Regions from separate parts of the Homo sapiens genome. Here regions 1, 2, 3, 4, 5 and 6 are each linked to region 7. The links are contacts of gene promoters, found by promoter capture Hi-C in blood cells and fetal thymus (Javierre and others, 2016). All regions are on one chromosome and are shown on one strand. The core of a region is centred on a gene start or on the middle of the fragment in contact, and the rest is flanking DNA. Distances in the headings are between cores, read along the strand shown. Region 1 overlaps PODXL (podocalyxin like). Region 2 overlaps MKLN1 (muskelin 1). Region 3 overlaps MKLN1 (muskelin 1). Region 4 overlaps MKLN1 (muskelin 1). Region 5 overlaps MKLN1 (muskelin 1). Region 6 overlaps MKLN1 (muskelin 1). Region 7 holds the start of LINC-PINT (long intergenic non-protein coding RNA, p53 induced transcript).

Region 1 (2,855 bases), core at 14-2,513, 410 kb after region 7:
CGCAATCTCCACTCACTGCAACCTCCGCTTTGTGGGTTCAAGCAATTCTCCTGCCTCAGCCTCCCAAGTACCTGGGACCACAGGTACACACCACTACACCAGGCTAATTTTTGTATTTTTAACGGAGATGTGGTTTCACCATGTTGGCCAGGCTGGTCTCGAACTCCTGACCTCAGGCGATCCACCCTGCTCAGCCTCCTGAAGTGCTGGGATTACAGGTGTGAGCCATCGGGGCCGGCCGTATATCTCTCCTCTTATAAGGATACCAGTCATTGGATTTAGAGCCCTCCCTAATCCAGTATGACTTCATCTTAACTTGATTACATCTGCAAAGACCCTATTTCTAAGTAGGGTCACCTGCACAGGTACCAGGTACCAGAGATTAGGACCTGAACATGTCTTTTTGCGGGGGGAATGCCATTCGCTCTCCTGATCTGCTCTCCTATATCCTCGTGAAAATACCAGGAGTCTTTCAAACATTCGAAATTAACTCTGTCTGCTTTAAAGAGAAAGTAATGTATTAAAAAGATAATGCGTTGGCTAATAAAATACTTGAGGTGGCTAAAGAATCAAGCGTAAGTCAGAAACAGTGCTCAAGACCTCTTCTCCTGAACGGGTCTGGTGAGGTCATCACTTCTACCATCATCGAGCATCAGTTTGCACCACTGGCAACATTAGTATTGGATACTGGCTTTTATTGGGGATGAGAGTGTTTAAGGATGCTGTCCGTAAGAGGTCTTTCCATTTACTTTTATGACTGGCACCATGGGGAATCCCCTGGGTTCTAGCCATATTCCTTCCTGCTTCATTATTTAGCCCCATGTAGGGTTCAGGCTAAGTCTGATAAAATTTAACAGGCCACTTATCCTGCCATAGAGTGAGCTCCTTGGTAAAGCCTATGGTCTGTGGGGTAATTGTGATGGTGAATAAAGCATCCTGGAAGTCCAGAAACGGCGCCGCTGACAGAAACGTGGCAGCCTGGAGGGCACACGCAGGTCCAGAACGGGCCGCCCTCCACCACGCCACTTGGTCACAGATCCACAGCGCCATCATTAGGCGATGGAGAAGAAAACTGATATGCTGAAGGGGTCATCTTGCCCATCTGATTACCCAGAGCCTTTCTCTAGACGCAGGCAAATATCCTCACACTCCAGACCTATCCCTGTGGGTCCCTCCACAGGCCTGCCTAACCTTCCAGGTCACACTGATTCTCCATTGCTGTTCCTTCTGAGTTCCCTAGCATTGTTTTAAAAATGATTAGCTCCTGCTGATGAATCTGTTCAGAGCCTCGCCTCAGTGGACCTTTCCTTCAAAAACAAAAGACCAGGAAATGTATTCTTTAAAGTCCTGGCCACTGGGAGAATTTTCTTTCTACGCCACCCTTCAGGATATAGAGCTTTTCTCCTGTCACTGTCCAGTTTGGGCTGGTACTAGCATATTATCCCAAATCATATAAAACCAGGCTTGGTTTTTTCACTCCTCATTCAGCTGATCTCGGGTAACTAATTCTCTTAGAGACCTTTAGGTATGGGTGGGGGTAGGAACAGGCATTCTGAGGGTGTGAGCCGCGCTCCAATTTCCATTGTCCTCCTTTAAGACCAGCCCAGGCCTGGTCCTCTATCTACCACCTTCAATCTAACAATAGAAAGCCACAAAACAACCTAAAGAAAAAAATGGAGGAATGAAAGAACAACCAAAGAAATAGAAACCAAAATACAATAGCACATATCAAAATCAAAAATTGTTTTTTTTAAACAGGCTAATAAAGTGCCAAAAAGTCTTTGGAGAGGTTGATCAAAAGGGGAAAAAAAAAAATCCAAAGGCATAAGTAAACAATGTGAGGTACAAAAATAGTAATAGTTATTTAAAGCATAATACCTTATGGGCAAATATTTATAAATCTGAAGCAGACGAGACAGACAAATTTCTTTCTTTTTTTTATTTTTTTGAGACAGAGTCTCACTCCGTCCCACAGGCTGGAATGCAACAGTGTGATCTTGGCTCATTACAATCTCCTGGGGTCAAGCAATCCTCCTACTTCAGCCTCCTGGGTAGCTGGGACTACAGGCATGTACCACCACGCTCAGCTAAAATTTTTGTATTTTTTGTAGAGATAGGGTTTCACCATGTTGCCCAGGCTGGACTCAAACTCCTGGGCTCAAGGGATCCATCTGCCTCAGTCTCCCAAAGTGCTGGGACTACAGATATGAGACACTGTGCCCTGCCACAAATTTCTTGGGAAAGAAAAAAACTTACCAGAGTGACTCAAGGAAAACGGAAATAATCATTTATCCTATAATCATAAAGAAATTGAGCCTTTCCAACTTGGGTGCGGTAAAATGGCTCCTGCGAAGAGGGTGGTGAGAAGAAAGGCCGTTCTACCATCAACGAGGTGGTGACCCGAGAATGCACCATCAACAATCCCAAGAGCTTCCTGGAGTGGGCTTCAAGCAGCATGCCCCTCAGGCACTCACAGAGATCCAGAAATTTGCCATGAAAGAGATGGGAACTCCAGATGTGCGCATTGATACCAGGCTCATCAAAGCTGTCTGGGCCAAAGGAATAAAGAATGTCCCATACCTATCCCTGTGCGGTTGTCCAGGAAACAGAATGAGGATGAAGATTCACCAAACAAGCTCTATACTTTGGTTACCCACGTGCCTGTTATCACTTTCAAAAATCTATAGACAGTCAGTGTGGATGAGAAATAACTGCTGACTGTCGAATATGTCAAATAAAGGTATAAAACCACAAAAAAGGGAAAAAAAATAAATTGAATAGGTACTTTTTTCATAAAGAAACTCCAAAACAGGATTCAAAGATCAAATCATTCTGGCCTTACATGAACTTTCTGT
Region 2 (2,843 bases), core at 103-2,602, 380 kb after region 7:
TCCCTACTAGTCTTTTTGGAAAACATGTTTGTTTTAATTTCATCTTCCCTCACTTTATTTAGGTAGAATTTTTCCCCCTTCATTTCTGAAATTTTTTGCTCACCGCCATGTTTAAATGGGGTTGAATCATAGCGAGCCATTTGCTCTTGCCAAAGTGAGATAGATGTACTGAGGAGATAATTGAAAAGTCAGACTCTGTACTGTGGGGCTTTAATCGGAGCACTGCTGGAAATGATTGCAGAGAATGTAGTGCTTCATATATCCATGACCAAGATTGACATGTTGCTCACAACATGTCACAATTTAGTGAGGAGCTACATGTATTTCCAAGAATTCCAGCATAGATTATAATTTAAATAATCGAATTTGGTATTTAGGTACATTGTTTATATAGCCAAGTGTATATGCTTTACTACCTAACAATTATTCTAGCCTAGGTGAATCCCTAATTGAAACACCTGGCTAACACTTTAGACACATAAATTAAGTGGGATACAGTTTTCTCATTTGTATTATCTCCAGCTTCAACCTCATTTATCCTTTTTCCTAGTATAATACATTGTTTTCAACCAGAAATTAAAGTAGATATCCAACATTATTTTCAGTGCTTGTACTTCATGAGAAATAATCTGATTTTCAAGACACCTCTTAAGTGCATTTGCATTTTATTTTGGTAATGGCAGAGACCTCATGTGGCCAGTTTGATTGATTGAAGAATGTATCACTCTTATTCAAGCAAAGGAATTCAGACTTAAATGCCTACCTCTGTGCTGAAGCTGACAGACAGTATTAACTCTTATCAAGGCCATCTTTTAGACCTGATTTTCATTTATATGAAAACAGACCTGTCCATGTCTAATAAGTAAAAACTGATAGAATACATTAAAAAGTCACTGGTTTATCATAGAAAAGTTTGATGGGTTTAGAGCTCAGTGATTTAAGCTTGTAAAACTGCATTCTTGGGCAAAATATTTATATTGTATATAAATGGTTGGCAGCTTATTCCAGTTGATCTCTTCACATCTGCCTTAAAAGTGCTATGTAGAGATACATTAACAGAGTTATAATAAAACAGTGTTTTAAAATCTAGCCTATAAACAAAAACTAGTTTGAGGCACCCAAGCATTTAGTGAGAGATTGAGAATGATGCTTAATGGATCAAAAAAGCAATTAGGAGTATGTTCCTGATTTTATTCTCTAAATTATACTCAATTTCATGGTAATTACATGAAGAAGTTACCTGCAATTATTCTTAACACTACATGGAATTCACTGGGTAATTGTGGGTCATTTATTTCCTGAAAGTCACGTGAAATCCTTAGCTGGTTGAATGTTGCACAGTATTTGAGAATTACGGTTTGAAGTGATTTCTGTGGGAGGGAATCATTGCAATGTATATTCTAAATAAAGTCATCTAACTATTAAAAAAAAAACACCCTTCCTAACCCTTCTTTTCTTAAAATTCCACATTCATCCACAATCTCATCCCTTTGTAGAAATTCTTGCCTGAATTCTCACCAAGTTTTGAATTCCTAAGGTAGCCCCGATCTAGGATGTGAAGGCTGCCCAGAAAAAGTTTATGGCTGGAGGAGTATCATACAGTGTCTACATATGATAGTACTTACAGATTAGGTCTTTGGATGCTTTAACACAAAAGATTTTTGTTATCCTTATTAGTCAAATAACGCTATTCTTTTGTGGTTCTAGACCCTGGCTTCTATCTCCCTGTGATTTGTTTTAATGCTGAAATGACTTGGCTATCCAAAGCTTCTAGTCTAGAGGTCTGTTGGTTGAAGGCAGACATTTCCAAGTTTGTTGAAATAATACGAAGCTGACTAGCTTACGTGAATGATGTTGCCCTCATTTGTTTTGGGTGAGGACTCATTACTGCAGTATATTGATCTCTTCACCAAATGCTTTTTCTTTTTCTGAATAAATGCTGTATTAGAGGTTCTATTTATATATGATTTTTAAAACTTTGGTTTCCTTCTATCCACCAAATACTGTGAATTGTTTTTCCATTTATTTTTCTTAGCTAATGTAACTTTATTCTTCACTTTTTTTTAGCCCTAGACTTCCTAGATTTTCTGTGGCATTCTGTAGGACATTGTATTGCTTGGAAAAAAAAAGATCAAAATCATTCTGGGGCAAATGCTCTATTATCCTTATTTATGACAAGAGAATAATGAAATTCATAAGAAATTAATAACATTCAGATATTGCTATAAATGTACTTGAGTCATTTTCATTTGGGGATAGTAATAATGGCTGTGGCAGCTTTAATGGAGAAACCTGTGTTGGCCTCTTTTTCTGGCATTAGGATCTCTTGTCATAGAACTATTGGTAAAGTACAGGTTTGATAGCAGAGTTCCTGAATTCAGCATATCATCAGAATTTCCATTTACCTTTTGTCTTTTCTTTTTATTGTATTTTTTAACCTTTTTGTTTCTATTCCTACCTCCCATGAGTAACATTGATTTCTGCTGAAGTTAGAATTTGTGTTAAGAATTGACTTTAAACTTCTGAAATAGTTGAATATTAGAAGTGGCTTCAGTTGCCATGAAATGATTGCTTTTCTTTTTCTTTTTTTTTCCTTAAATAAAAATAATGCAGCCTTATATATGTCTCTTCCCCTCAAGAATGTGAATTTAGGCTGGGCATAGTGACTCACGCCTGTAATCCCAGACCTTTGGGAGGCTGACACGGGAAGATTGCTTGAGCCCAGGAATTTCAGACCAGCCTGGGCAACACAGGAAGACTCCATCTCTACTTAAAATATTTTTGTTTTTTAGCCAGGTGTGGTGGTATGTGCCTGTAGTCCCAGCTACTTGGGAGGCTGAGGT
Region 3 (2,799 bases), core at 294-2,793, 360 kb after region 7:
ACAGTCTGTTTGGGGGGAAGAAATCCTCTGGTAACAGTTCACATGTATACTCACGATATTTGTCAGTGAGACATGTAGATCTCATTGTAGGAAATCATTCCACTCATTGAGAAGGGGCTTACTGTTCTTCATTTTCTATAGTAACTTGTTTTTGTTCTGTTTATATGTTTTACAGACATTTAATGTTATTAAATGACTTTCTCATTTAAGTCTCAAAACACAAAAAGTGTTTTTTAGATTTTTTTTTTCACAGTTGTTATGATCATCATCATTGTGCCTGTTGTCAGGACATTGACAGCTGACTATCAACTATATAACAAAAAAATGTTATTGGCTTCCTCCAGTCTTCAGAACATGGGTTCTGAATTGGTGATGAACTTACAATAAATCTTATAAAAAATGATATTTTTTTCTAGAAAAGCCATGAGAAAAGGATGCCTAATCAATTATACCACTTTCAGAGAAGACTTCTATAATAGAGAAGGAATGAGAATAAGTTTTCAGCTACAATAACACATTTTATATTCATTACACTTCTGCGGAGTTTCCAGAGTGCTGGTGTCATTCATTTAACAGTTGTGTATCGATTCCCCATAATAGGTCAGGCATTCTAGGCAGAGGAGCTGTATCAGCAAACCCAACAAGATCCCTGCCCAGGAGGTACTTACATTTTAGTGGAGAAAGACAATAAACATTAAAGAAGCAAATTATATAGTACATTAGAATTGAATAAGTACTGGGCCGGGCACAGTGGTTCACGCCTGTAATCCCCGCACTTCAGGAGGCTGAGGTGGGTGGATCACCTGAGGTCAGGAGTTCAAGACCAGCCTGGCCAACATGGTAAAACTCCGTCTCTACTAAAAATACAAAAAATTGGCCGGGCATGGTGGGAGGCGCCTGTAATCCCAGCTGATCGGGAGGTTGAGGCAGGAGAATCTCTTGAACCCGGGAGGTGGAGGTTGCAGTGAGCTGAGATTGTGCCACAGCACTCCAGCCTGGGCAACAAGGAGTTACTGTAGCTCAGCCCAAAGTAATAGTAGAGCAGTGAGAAGTAAAATAGAGCAGATTCTTAATATATTTTAAAGATAGAACCAACAGAATTTTATGATAGATTAGATCTAGTGTTTGAAAGAAACGACTCAAAGGTTTTGGCCTGAAAAACTGGAAGGATGGAGTTACTATCAACTGAAGTGAGAAAGTTCTGTGGGGAACTGGTTTGTGGGGACTCCTGACTGGCATTCAGGAGTTTAAATTTGGAAATGTTCAGTTTGAGATATCTATGAGACAGCCAACTTAAGATGTTGAGGTGACTGTTGGATATTTGAATCCAGAGTTTGGGAAAGAGGTCTGTAATATCCCTTGGTATGTGTTAAAATCCTTAGGCCAGTACATACAGTTCACTTATTTAATCAGATTGTTAAGATAATAGTTTTCTCCTTATCCTATATGTAGAGCCAATACAATTTATTTTTCACCTTAGGAGTTAGAAAAGAGGAACAAATTCAACCCCAAATAAGTAGGAAATAAGAAATTCATGAAATAGGAAACAAACAATGGAGAAATTTTAAAAGTGAAAAGTTGGCCTTTTGAAAAGGTAAATAAATTGATAAACCCCAAGCAAGACTTACCAAGTGTATTAGCCTGTTCTCACACTGTTGTAAAGAACTACCTGAGACTGGGTAATTTATGAAGAAAAGAGATTTAATTGACTCACAGGCCCACAGGCTTAACAGGAAGCATGACTGGGAGTCCTCAGTAAACTTACAGTCATGGCAGAAGGTGAAGGGCAAGCAAGCACCTTTTTCACATGATGGCAGGAGAGAGAGTGACAATGAGGGGGGAAATGCCACACATGTTTAAACCATCAGATCTCATGAGAACTCACTATCACAAGAACAGCAAGGGGGAAATTGGCCCCTGTGATCCAATGGTCCCCCACCAAACCCCTCCCCCAATTCAACATGAGATTTGGGCAAGGATGCAAATCCAAACTATATCACCAAGAAAAAAAGTGAAAACATAAATTATCCACATCACAAATGAAAAGAGGGCATCAGTTTAGACCCTACATATATTAAAAGTAAAGTGGGTATGGAAAACTTCATTGACAAGCCGCAACTTGATGAAATTGACAAATACTTTAAAAGACACAGTTTACCAAAACTGACACAAGAAGAAATAGAAAATCTTAAGGAACTCCATATCTACTACAGAGATTGAATTTGTAATAAAAAATTTTCTAACAAAAAAAACTCTAGGCCCATAATAGCAGTAAATTTTATCAACCATTCAAAGAAGGAAGAAAAAAATACAATTTTACATAGACTCTCAGAAATTAGAGGAAGGCAATACTTCTTAAATCCTTTTATAAGCCAGGTTAACTTTGATATAAAATCCCAACAGAAGCTGGGCGTGGTGGCTCACGCTTGTAATCACAGCATTTTGGGAGGCTGAGGGGTGGATCGCCTGAGCCCATGAGTTTGAGACCAGCTTGGGCAACATAGCAAAAACCTGTCTCTACAAAAACATGCAAAAAATTAGCTGGGTGGTGCCATGCCTGTAGTCCCAGCTCCTCTGGAGGCTGAGGTGGGAGGATCACCTGAGTTCAGAGAGGTTGAGGCTGCAGTGAGCTGTGATCATACCACTGCACGCTGAACCTTGGTGACAGAGTGGGATCCTATCTCAGAATAAATTAGAATAAAATAAAATCCCAAGAGAGACGTTACAAGCAAAGAAAATCATGGACCAATATTTTTCATGAACATAAATGTAAAATTCTTAGGAAAATTTTAGTTAATT
Region 4 (2,700 bases), core at 107-2,606, 320 kb after region 7:
TGGGATTACAGGTGCCCGTCACCACACCTGCCTAATTTTTTTGTATTTTTAGTAGAGACGGAGTTTCACTATGTTGGCCAGGCTGGTCTCAAACACCTGACCTTGTGATCCACCTGCCTCAGCCCCTCAAAGTGCTGGGATTACAGGCATGAGCCACTGTGCCAAATTGGAAACGCCTATTATTGCATGAAGAAGGGGCTGAATGGGGTGGCTCATGCCTATAATCCTGGTACTTTGGGAGGCTGAGGTGGGAGGATTGCTTGAGGCCAGGAGTTCAATACCATCCTGGACAACATAGTGAGCCCCTGTCTGTAACCCCCACCCCCCCAAAAAAAGTTAGCTGGGCATGGTGGCACATTATTGTAGTCCCAGCTACTCGAGAGGCTGGGGTGGAGGGATTGCTTGAACCCAGGAGGCTGCAGTGAGCCATGATTGCACCACTGCACTCCAGCATGGGCAACAGAGAGAGACCGTGTCTCAAAATAAATAAATAAATAAATAATAAAAATAAAGAAGGATCTATGATACACAATGTTATATGTAAAGATTCATTATTCACTGAAGAAGAAAATCAGTTTTGTCAGCGGTAAAGTCTGTGAATATAATAGACATTTCAGAGTCAGAAGAAACCAAATTCTCAAGATACTTAGAATGACTTAAAGGATAATTTCTGATGAGTTAAATGTACCACAATATATCTGGAAAAATTTCTCCCAGTTTTTATAGGAATATCAAAGCTGTGGATCACTTTTTCTTAAGATATCTAATTTTAACTTAAAGCTAGTTTTAACCATTGTTTTTGATATAGCAATAGAGAGAAATTGCCTTTAATATGACTTTTTTCAAAAACAGCTAAATGTTCTTATGCTGTACTTTTACACTATATATTCCTCTGGGGGTTTTATTTTTTAGAATCTGAATTAAAAAATTCCATAGTGGATAAAAAGTGGCTGCATTATTAAAAAGCTGGTAAATGTAAAGTTTTCAAGGCCAAACACAGAAACTCCAAACCAGCTGCACGTTAAATTTTTCTGGGATACTTTACAAATACAGACCCATTTTTACCCATTGAAAACCTGTGGAATCAGAATCTTGGGACATGCCTCCTAGTTATCTGTATTTTTATAAATCTCTCAAAATAATGGTTCTGCAGCATCCTTTTCATATATTCATGCCTAGGAAATATTAGTCTAGTATATATTTGAGAAAGTTACCAGGTTAAAATTTTTATTTTAAAATTTATTTAGATGTAGCTTCTTAAGTGGCCTTAGAAACAGCTGGCTAGGTTTGGGTGCTTATGCTTATTTTGTCCTTTTTTTTTTACACATATTTTTCTGATTTTCATAGAGACTGTTTATTTGTTTGGTGGCTGGGATGGAACACAAGATCTTGCTGACTTCTGGGCGTACAGTGTGAAGGAGAACCAGTGGACATGTATCTCTAGAGACACTGAAAAAGAGGCAAGTTCTCAGACTTTTCATACATCTATATTACAGAAGGGGCGTAGATGTGCACTTGTTTTTCGGCATGATTATATTCTTCACTAATGTCTGTCAGCAGTAGTAGCAATAGAATTTGTGGTAAACAAGTTTTTTTTAAGTACTCTTGAATTTCAGCTTCTATAACTGGCTGTTCAGCTACTGATACACAACCAAATCTGTTTTATAGAGAGAGAGAGAGTGAGGAATGGGGATTTTTATATCATTTTGTTTTTAAACTGCTTTAGCCTAGAAATGTAACTGTGTAACTGTCTTTTTTGCTTATGTCTCCACTACCTCTATTCTTATTTTTAACATTCATCTTATTTTTATTTCTTCTGGAATATTGTGTTTTTGACACTCACTATCTCCCTATTTTGGCTCCTGTTATTTTACTATATGTCAGTTTTCATAAATGATATATATTATCTTTTTTTTGGAGTCTTGCTCTATCGCCCAGGCTGGAGTGCAGTGGCACCATCTCGACTCACTGCAAGCTCCGCCTCCCAGGTTCATGCCATTCTCCTGCCTCAGCCTCCCAAGTAGCTGGGACTACAGGCGTCCGCCACCACGCCCAGCGAATTTTTTTTTGTATTTTAGTAGAGACGGGGTTTCACCATGTTAACCAGGATGGTCTCGATCTCCTGACCTCGTGATCCACCCGCCTCGGCCTCCCAAAGTACTGGGATTATAGGCGTGAGCCACTGCGCCTGGCTGATACATATTATCTTTAATAAAAATTGTATATATGTATGCATGTACAGATCTGTGTATGCACATATACATAAAGCATTTCCATAGTGAATAAGATGGCTTAGGTTTATGGCTTTGAATTAAGTGCATGATTATATCCTGGAATAAAGTAAATGTTAATTCATTTATTATTTTTTCAAATCTTTATAGAACATTTTAATTGCACTCTCCATTTAAACTGTTTCAGGATATAAAGTGACAAATGAGCTATAACAAAACAGTAGGAGCCTCAAATGAAAAGGAGATAAAACGGCCTAATTCATAACCCACTGATTTTGATCTAGGAAGGCCATTTCCAAAGATCTAGTGCTGTGTCGTTAATCCTGGGGAACTAGGTTCTTGCTTACTCTGAAATTATGTTAATAAAAACTGTCCAGGGATTAATCACTGGACAGTTTTTATTTTTTCAAATAGATGTTGAAATTCTGATTTACTTTTCTTACCCCGGGAAAGTATGTGTAAGTGGCCT
Region 5 (2,700 bases), core at 32-2,531, 300 kb after region 7:
TGCAGTATTTACTGACTTTTTGCAAGAATTTTGAAAAGTCTCAAAGGCAAAGAAGAAAGGAAATTTGGTGAGCGTGCCTGTAGGATGGAGGTTTCCAGTTAAAGCCAGCTGAAAAGTCTTGAAAGCGAAAGGGTTGGTTACAACTGAGCTTCATAATTACCCAGAAAAGAAAGATTAGGGGGAGTGCTCTAAATTGGTTGGTCTCTGGTGAATATATAAATCGCAGAAAACAGTTTTACTTTTAAATTGAGTCACATGACAGAGTTTAATAGTAAAAGTAACTTTATAAATTATGATCTATTTGGGTGCATGTAAAAGCTAGGGTTTCTAGCTTAAAAAGTAAGGAAATGTTATTGTAGCACATAGCAAGAAGTCCAGAGGTAAGGCAGATTTCATGGTTGGTTGATTCAGTGATCATTTCTTTCTTTCTCTGTGCTGTATCATCATTATAGAATTGACTGCATTCTTGTACTTCGACAAATTTGCTTTAATATTTGTATACATTACATGCAGATATTCCAGAGGAATAAAAGTAGATTTTTTTTTCTGTATGTCTCTTTAGAAGTAAGGAAAAATTGCCTAGAAGTCTCCCAGAAGATTCCTCATGTTTCATTAGCCAAAATTGGGTTCCATACTGTTCTTAAACTAATCTTTGTTGAGGGCCATGGGAGTAGGGCTTCATAATTATTTAGGTGTGTATGTGGGGGGATGTATGTAGGGAGTTCAGTCTCCATACCATTACAGTAACTAGTGTAACAACTTAAGTAGATTATGAGTTTATCAATACAGCAGAATCAGGAGTAAGGAAAACATGGTAGAACTTTAGTACCAGCCCCACCATTTAAGAGCTGTGTGATTTTGGTTAAGTTTCTTACTTTTTTTAAATACAAATTTCTGGATTTATAAAACGGAGATGATAATGTGTAGTTCATAGGATTGTTTTTAGAATTAAATGAGATGAGACAGCATAAATTCTAACATTTGGTAAGTGTTCCATAAGTATAGTTTTATTACTGCTGTTAGTACTTTTATCTTTATGTAGTTTTGTACTCAAAACTGTATAATAATGGAATTCACATGTTAAAGTTAGTGTTCCCTTTTCCTGAAAATGTATCAAGGACCTAGACCAAAATTATTGGAGCTCTATTTTCTTCTCTAGTTCTCTTGGATATGGGTGGCAAAAAGTACTGGCACAAAGCACTGTTGGGGGAAAGAGATTAGGATCCAATGAATCCATGTCATTATAGGATGTAAAGATTAAGAATTTCATAGTTGAAATAAAGACAAGTGGTGGGAGATCACAAAAAGAAAATATAATTCTCCTAATCTTTAGTTATCCTTTCCTCTTCTTAATTATATTTATGATAATGATAGAAATGATTTTTTAAAGATATATAAGATCTTTTTTCAATGAAGTAGAACATTTATTCAGATTATTTATTTTTATTTTCTCCTGCTTCTATTTTGCAGCCTTAAATTGTCTTATGACTTTTTTTCCCCTCCCAGTTCACTCCCTTTTCCTTCTTTCAAGGTCTCTAACCCTCTGATAATGTCACATACGTGTCCGTTGAATGCAACAGTGACTTTGTATCTAATACATACAGTGATGATGAGAAACATAGTACGTTTAATATGAGCTTCCCCTAAAGCAATTTGTTTGCATGGTTGTGTCAATTAATATTTTACTATTTATATTTGAGGTAGCATGAAGTGAAATTGAAGTGATGCATATTTTATGAAAATGTGCTTTTGTATTAGTGACATATTAGTAATTTCTTTTAATGTAGCCTTTTAAATTTTAATTTTTTTCTATAATAAATAATGTAAGTAGTTAAGGTGTAATTCTTTCTCATTCTTCAATATTTGCAGATGGCTTGTTCAATCAGTATATCAGTCAACAGGAATATAAGCCACGATGGAGTCAAATCATTCCCAAAAGTACCAAAGGTAAGCCATACCTTCTAGATTGTAGTTCTTTTTCATTAATGTCTCAGTCTTCAGTTTTCCCAAGGTAGTTCAAGTATCATAGTACTAAGTTAATAAAAAAGAAGATGTTGGCCAGTTGCAGTGGCTCATGTCTAATCCCAATACTTTTGGAGGCCGAGGCAGGAGGATTGCTTGAGCCCAGAGGTTCAAGATCAGCCTGGGCAACATGGTGAGACCTGTCTCTACAAAAAATTAGCTATACAGCCGAGTGTGGTGGCTCACACCTATAATCCCAACACTGTGGGAGGCCAAGGTGGGCAGATCACCTGAGGTTAGTAGTTGAAGACCAGCCTGCCCAACATGGCAAAACCCTGTCTCTACTAAAAATACAAAAATTAGCTGGGCGTGATGGTGTGTGCCTGTAATCCCAGCTACTCGGGAGGCTGGGGTAGGAGAATCACTTGAACCTGTGAGGCAGAGGTTGCAGTGAGCTGAGATCATGCTATTGTACTCCGGCCTGGGAGACAGATGGAGATTCCATCTCAAAAAAAAAAAAAAAAAAAAAAAAAAAAAAATTAGCCAGACATGTTGGCAGGCATCTGTGGTCCCAGCTGCTTAGGGTACTGAGGTAGAAGGGTGGCTTGAGCCTGGGAGGTCAAGGCTGCAGTCAGCCGTGTTCATACCACTGCACTTCAACCTGGGCAACAGAGCGAGACTCTGTCTCAAAAAACAAAACAATAACCACAGCAAAATAAATAAAAAGCAGATGTTTAA
Region 6 (2,841 bases), core at 261-2,760, 280 kb after region 7:
TCCAGAGGGCAAGTTAAAGTTTGGGAAGGGAAAGCTCAGCAGGAGATTAGATCAGAGGAAAGTAAACATAAAATGGGTTGAGGGTATTGGTTACAGATGGCTCAAAGGGTTTACATTCTGATTTATAGCCACAATAACAGCTGTATGAGGAAATCAGGGGTAGGTGAGGGCAAAAAGAGGTACAGGGTCTTGGAAGGATTCAGGGGGAGTCTTGGTTTTTGGTAAATGGAGAGATGTGGATTTTTGTAAAGGAGTCAGCTGCAGCCTGGATGATTGTGGAGACTTCAGAGAGCGGCTTTAACTCTGGCTGGATGCAGCATGAAATCTGAGCATGAAGTCTGGGTATTAGTTCCAGGAAGCCCTTTAGGAGAGCATGTGGAAAAGTGACATTTTAGAAGTATACTATTAAGAGGAAAATTAATATAATAATAATAGATAATAACAGCTAACATTTATTGAACACTTAGTATGTGCCAGTTACTGTGCTAAGTATACTTATGTCATTAAATCTGTAGTAGAATAGTAGATGCACTCTTTCAGAATAGTTAATCTTGAATTTTTAGGATCTCTCAGAACCTCTTTTTTTTTTTTTTTTTGGGAGGTGGAGTTTCACTCTTGTTGCCTAGGCTGGAGTGCAATGGCACAATCTCGGCTCACCACAACTTCCTGCCTCCTGGGTTCAAGCGATTCTCCTGCCTCAGCCTCCTAAGTAGCCGTGATTACAGGCATGCGCCACCATGCCCGGCTAATTTTGTATTTTTAGTAGAGACGGGGTTTCTCCATGTTGGTCAGACTGGTCTTGAACTCCCGACCTGAGGCGATCCACCCGCCTTGGCCTCCCAAAGTGCTGGGATTACAGGCGTGAGCCACTGCGCCTGGCCTAATTTTTTTTTTTTTTTTAAGAGGCAGAGTCTTGCTCTGTTGCTCAGGTGGCACAATTAGAGCTCAGTGCAACCTCCAGTTCCTGGGCTCAAGCCATGTTCCGGCCTCAGCCTCCCTAGTAGCACACCACCACACCTGGCTAATTTTAAAAACAATTTTTTTGTAGAAACTGAGTCTTGCTGTCTTGCCCAGGCTGGCCATTTTATGAAAAAAGGTGACACAGGGATGTTGATTATATTCATGTCTGATTGTCCAATGGGGAAAACTGATGACTGAATCCTAGAATACAAACTGCTAGCCTTGGGATATGTATTAGGAGTTTCTAATTCTTTTATTTGATGAGGGAGGCATCTTTTATCAGGGAACAAAGAACACGTGCCTGGAGCTTTAATTCACTTTTAGATTTCTTAGTGTTCTAATATGCATTATTAGTATTGTTAATGCTACCAAAAATCACTGGCGTTTGAAGTGAGTGGACATCATTCTGCTCATTTTTTACATACCCTTTTAGTCTGTTGAAAATTAATTATATTGTTTATTCATCTGTAATATATATGCCCATTGGCAAGATAACTTCATGATTTACCTCCTTCCTCTAAAGGTATTCTTTAAAGGTATTAAAAATTATAACTAATTTTATTCTAGAAATATTTCTATTGGACCATTGGGTAACAGATTAAATTTCACTGCAAGTGTTTTAAAAGGTTTTTGTTTTGTTTTGTTTTGTTTTGTTTTTTAAGAGACAGGGTCTTTCTCGGTTACCTAGGCTAGAATTTAGTAGTGTGGTCATAGCTCACTGTAACACTGAACTCCTGGGCTCAAGTGATCCTTCATCTGGCCTCCCAAGTAGCCAGGACTACAGGCACATACTATCATGCCCAGCTGATTTTTAATTTTTTTTTGTAGAGATAGGGTCTCACTATATTTCCAGGCTGGTCTTGAACTCCTGGGCTCAAATGATCCTCTTGCTTCTGCCTCCCAAAGTGTTGGGATTACAGACATGAGCCACTGCACCAGGACCAATAAATGAATTCTTAATGAGACTTGGACCTGGAAATCTCTAATATTTTATGTCTGGTGACATATATAGACTATATTCTTGGTGCTTTTAGTTTAGAATCATTATTTTATTCTGACTCTTATACTACTAGATGGTTATTGCTATGTGATTTAGTAGATAAACTTTTAAATGACACTGCTACATAAAGAAACACTAAAACAATAAAGATAATTTAATATTTGTTGTTAAAAAAAAACTTTTTGAAATGTGTGTTGTTTACATACATAAACAGAAAGGCATATTAAATATCCCAGCATTCCTTCATACATCCTTATGGCTGGTTGCTACTGCCTGTGTTTTTATTCACACAGCTTCCTTTATATCAGTGGTCCCCAACCTTTTTGACACCAGCGACCAGTTTTGTGGAAGACAGTTTTTCTGTGGACCCAGAAGTTGGGGCAGGGTATGGTGGAGAGATGGTTTTGGGATGAAACTTTTCCATCTCAGATCATCAAGCATTAGATTCTCATAAGGAGTGCACAACTTAGATCCCTTGTATTTGCAGTTCATGATAGAGTTTGCAGTCCTTTGAGAATCTAATGCCAACGCTGATCTGACAGGAGGCAGAGCCCAGGCAGTAATGCTCCCTTAACACACTGCGCACCTCCTGCCATGCGTCTGGGTTCCTAACAGGCCAGGGACCTGTACAGGTTTGGGCCTGGGGGTTTGGGACCCCTGTTTTAGATGACAAAAATATATAAAAGTATCATACCCCATACATTTTCCTTATTCAGTCGGATATTGGAAATCATTACGCCTGGTATCAGCTATTCTGGATATTCTATTTTGATGCTTCATCAAAACTCTACAAATGTTAGTTTCTTAAAGATAGTTGCATTATTGATTCTGAAACTGCATCAGTGAATCTGTTGTTACATTAAAATTCACTGGTCTATCTT
Region 7 (2,700 bases), core at 112-2,611:
CGCTGGGAAAACAGAAATGACAAAACAATAATAACAGAAATAGAACCAGGCATTTGATACATAATTACCATCACCACGGCTTTCAAGCTTTCTGGAATTACGTTCCTCCAGTAACTGTTGATGATGCTTGCAGGAGGCAAAATGCAATGCAGTTTTTCTCTTCCGCAGCTATATTAGGGCTTTGTTGCTGACAACAGTGAAAACTTGTTTGTGTCAGGAAGTGAGGTACGGAGATATGACCTGGAAGGTACAGACAAAACCAAAGTGGCAGTTTTTGCATTACTTTTCTGACCACATTCTTTCAAATGGTGACAAGAAGGCGGTCTGCTGTAAAATTCGTGGGGTGTTTGATGGGAAACAAAATAATCAGAAAAACATAATTATCCCTAGCCATACCATACTTGCTAGACGCTAGAAAGTATACATATATGTAATCTCTGTATACATAGAGAAAGCAAAAAGCATGTGCACTTTAATATTTTTGAACCACTAATTTTGTCATCATTTGTACCATTAACAAACACTTGGAAAGACTCACTCAAGTCCAGGGATGTGTGGAAACTCACAATGTTGAGTGCTGTGGGTATTACTGACTCACAGTCCCTTAAAGGGTTTGTACCATAAATCCCAAATTTCTGCCTTAAAGTTTTTACAGACATGGAGATTTTATCCTGTAAATCTAAGCCAGATAGCTATTTCTGGGTTTTTTAGTTCATGCTTTTCCATTTTATAAAGGAAACTGTGTGGATTGGCGGAATCAAGAAAAACTTCGCAAGAAACTGAAGAGTGGGATGGAAGATCTTTTCGTTTGGCCTTGCCTTGACTCTGTCTCTCTCCACCTCATCAGTTTACTTCATCAGCCATGATGAATGAGCTCCATTCCAACCCTTCTAATTCTATAATATCTCTCCCAAGTTTTACCTTCCTATCTCATGCCTAATTCTTTTCATCCCTTTCCTCCTACCTCCCTTGCCTCCCAACTCAGCCCCTTTTCTGCCTGGGGGCTCAGCTCGGGCCTCCCCAAAGACTGTACCCCCCACCCTCCCCTGCAGCTACCCCCACCCCCACGCCCTTCCCAGCTCGGCCTCTCTTCTTTGCAACTCTACCTCCTTACCTCTTTTGACCTCTAATCACCTTCACAGTCTGGCCCTTGACTTCTGGGCCTCTTCTTACCTCTCTTTACCTGAAATGTCCTGGCCCTCACTGGGGTCTCCTCCACACCCTTCTCTCTGGTCCCATCCCTTCTGCTGCCAAGCCCCAGCGTTCCTCCGGCTCGGCCTGGTCAGCTTGAGCCTCATTTTGTTCGCGTGCCCCTGGGCTGGGAAAGGAGTGTGTGGTGCACAGTGGGGCCAAGGATCCCCTGGGGCCGCGGCCTCTGCCTCGCCCCCTCCACCCCTCCCGAGTCCCGGTTGCGGCGCTTCCTGGGCGGATGGCTTGAAATTGCTGCAGCAGCTGCGGTTCTGCTGTGTCATGCAAGAAGGAGGCGGCGGCGGCGGCGGCGGCGGCCGGAGCTGGAGGGGGAGGAGGGGAGGAACCTGATCCTCCGGTAGCGAAGGGCTAGAGGCAAACACCGAGCTCCTCCAGAGCCGCCCGGGAGCAGGGAGGGCTCCGCTAGCCCGGGGGGCCCTCCCCGCGGGGCAGATGGTAAGTGGGGCGGTGCAGGTGGTCGCCTTGGGAAGGGAGCGCGCAGGGGGGTAAGGTGGGGCGGCGGGAAGTGCTAGAAGTCACCCCAGCCAAACTGAAGGAGCCCAGTTTCCAGCTGAGAGGGACCCAGGCCGTAATAAGGATGTCCAGCCAAACGCAGCAATAATTACTATTGGAGTGACGCCCCGAAGTTGACCCCAAGCTACACAGAGGGTGGAGTGGTGCATCCTGAACCCAGGACAGAGCTGGAGGCAATGATTCAGGGTTTGAGAAGTATCAGCCCATCGGCCTGGCGCTTTAAGGTGCAGCTGAGTAGGAAAAGCCAACCCACATCATATTCCCAGAGCCTTGCTGCGCTTTCTGGGTTGTCTTGTTCAAAACTAGTGAAAGGGATGGGAAACCTGCCCAACCTCACTTTAGCCACGAAAATAATGCTCTTGGCCAGTGGCCTTGGACAAACAGCCTCTGGTGCAACAAAACAATCAATAGGAAGAAGAACTTCATTCCCCTCACCATCCTCCTTCCCCAAGTTCCTTTGACCAGCATACCTCATTCGGCTTAAAGGAGAAAGAAAACTATGTGTGACATTCCCTCCCAGCCTACCTGCAGCCAGCCTCCTCACCACACAAACTGCCCATCCCGCTTCTCTCCTCATCTTCAGAGCCATGATTCCAAGAGACATTGCAATACTACTCACTTTAGGTGAGAAGACTGCCTGAAACTCTGAACAATTTCACCTCCCTTGCCCTTTGCCACAGGGGATTCAGAAACCTACAACTGAGAGCAGGGAAATATACGGACAGGCTTGGCACGTAGGAACATTACTTCCTTCACTGGAGTGTAGTTCTCCAGACAACTTTTTAATTATGATTATTCCCTTCCATTGCACTCCTGGAAATTTCAAAGCACTTTCTAAAACATCATTTTTTTTATGTCAGTCATACATTTAGAGGTAAGGGGTTGATGGGATTAACTGAAAGGCTAATGACTGTCTCAAAAGCACATGCTGTTGCTAGGGAACCCAAGCTCCTGCTGCTCTCTAATCACCAGCGTGTT

What was found. Contacts are between HindIII fragments. The CHiCAGO score rates a contact against its expected background, and 5 or more counts as called.
Region 1: a fragment that was not itself captured here is called in contact with the fragment with the promoter of LINC-PINT in region 7 in 1 of 17 cell types (neutrophils); the score reaches 6.9 in neutrophils.
Region 2: a contact is called between a fragment that was not itself captured here and the fragment with the promoter of LINC-PINT in region 7, in 3 of 17 cell types (neutrophils, endothelial precursors and megakaryocytes). The highest score is 8.6, in neutrophils.
Region 3: a contact is called between a fragment that was not itself captured here and the fragment with the promoter of LINC-PINT in region 7, in 4 of 17 cell types (neutrophils, activated CD4 T cells, endothelial precursors and 1 more). The highest score is 14.3, in neutrophils.
Region 4: a fragment that was not itself captured here is called in contact with the fragment with the promoter of LINC-PINT in region 7 in 17 of 17 cell types (activated CD4 T cells, neutrophils, total B cells and 14 more); the score reaches 24.9 in activated CD4 T cells.
Region 5: a fragment that was not itself captured here is called in contact with the fragment with the promoter of LINC-PINT in region 7 in 16 of 17 cell types (activated CD4 T cells, naive B cells, total B cells and 13 more); the score reaches 20.5 in activated CD4 T cells.
Region 6: a fragment that was not itself captured here is called in contact with the fragment with the promoter of LINC-PINT in region 7 in 17 of 17 cell types (naive B cells, neutrophils, total B cells and 14 more); the score reaches 28.3 in naive B cells.

Annotation. Positions count from the first base shown.
Region 1 is chr7:131,517,799-131,520,653 of GRCh38, forward strand. The region is part of intron 1 of PODXL (podocalyxin like); the gene reads right to left. It also overlaps the pseudogene RPL31P36. Among named protein-coding and RNA genes, the nearest start is that of PODXL, 37 kb to the right of the region's middle. RefSeq lists an enhancer at 1-337. The HindIII fragment of the contact is 7,481 bases long and covers 1-2,855 here.
Region 2 is chr7:131,489,799-131,492,641 of GRCh38, forward strand. It overlaps MKLN1 (muskelin 1), which reads left to right. Exons shown (of 18, transcript NM_013255.5): 18 at 1-2,843. Among named protein-coding and RNA genes, the nearest start is that of PODXL, 65 kb to the right of the region's middle. The HindIII fragment of the contact is 825 bases long and covers 941-1,765 here.
Region 3 is chr7:131,473,128-131,475,926 of GRCh38, forward strand. All of the region lies in intron 16 of MKLN1 (muskelin 1), which reads left to right. Among named protein-coding and RNA genes, the nearest start is that of PODXL, 82 kb to the right of the region's middle. The HindIII fragment of the contact is 4,278 bases long and covers 1-2,799 here.
Region 4 is chr7:131,427,686-131,430,385 of GRCh38, forward strand. MKLN1 (muskelin 1) reads left to right here. Exons shown (of 18, transcript NM_013255.5): 9 at 1,348-1,460. Among named protein-coding and RNA genes, the nearest start is that of MKLN1, 100 kb to the left of the region's middle. The HindIII fragment of the contact is 5,953 bases long and covers 1-2,700 here.
Region 5 is chr7:131,409,437-131,412,136 of GRCh38, forward strand. MKLN1 (muskelin 1) reads left to right here. Exons shown (of 18, transcript NM_013255.5): 7 at 1,870-1,947. Among named protein-coding and RNA genes, the nearest start is that of MKLN1, 83 kb to the left of the region's middle. RefSeq lists a silencer at 440-640. The HindIII fragment of the contact is 4,257 bases long and covers 1-2,700 here.
Region 6 is chr7:131,392,024-131,394,864 of GRCh38, forward strand. All of the region lies in intron 4 of MKLN1 (muskelin 1), which reads left to right. Among named protein-coding and RNA genes, the nearest start is that of MKLN1, 66 kb to the left of the region's middle. The HindIII fragment of the contact is 3,174 bases long and covers 1-2,841 here.
Region 7 is chr7:131,108,564-131,111,263 of GRCh38, forward strand. It overlaps LINC-PINT (long intergenic non-protein coding RNA, p53 induced transcript), which reads right to left and starts at 1,362. Exons shown (of 8, transcript NR_170176.1): 1 at 1,174-1,362; 2 at 1-240. It also overlaps a transcript of MKLN1 not described here. RefSeq lists enhancers at 1-214, 2,609-2,700 and silencers at 1,438-1,487, 1,568-1,717. The HindIII fragment of the contact is 3,581 bases long and covers 86-2,700 here.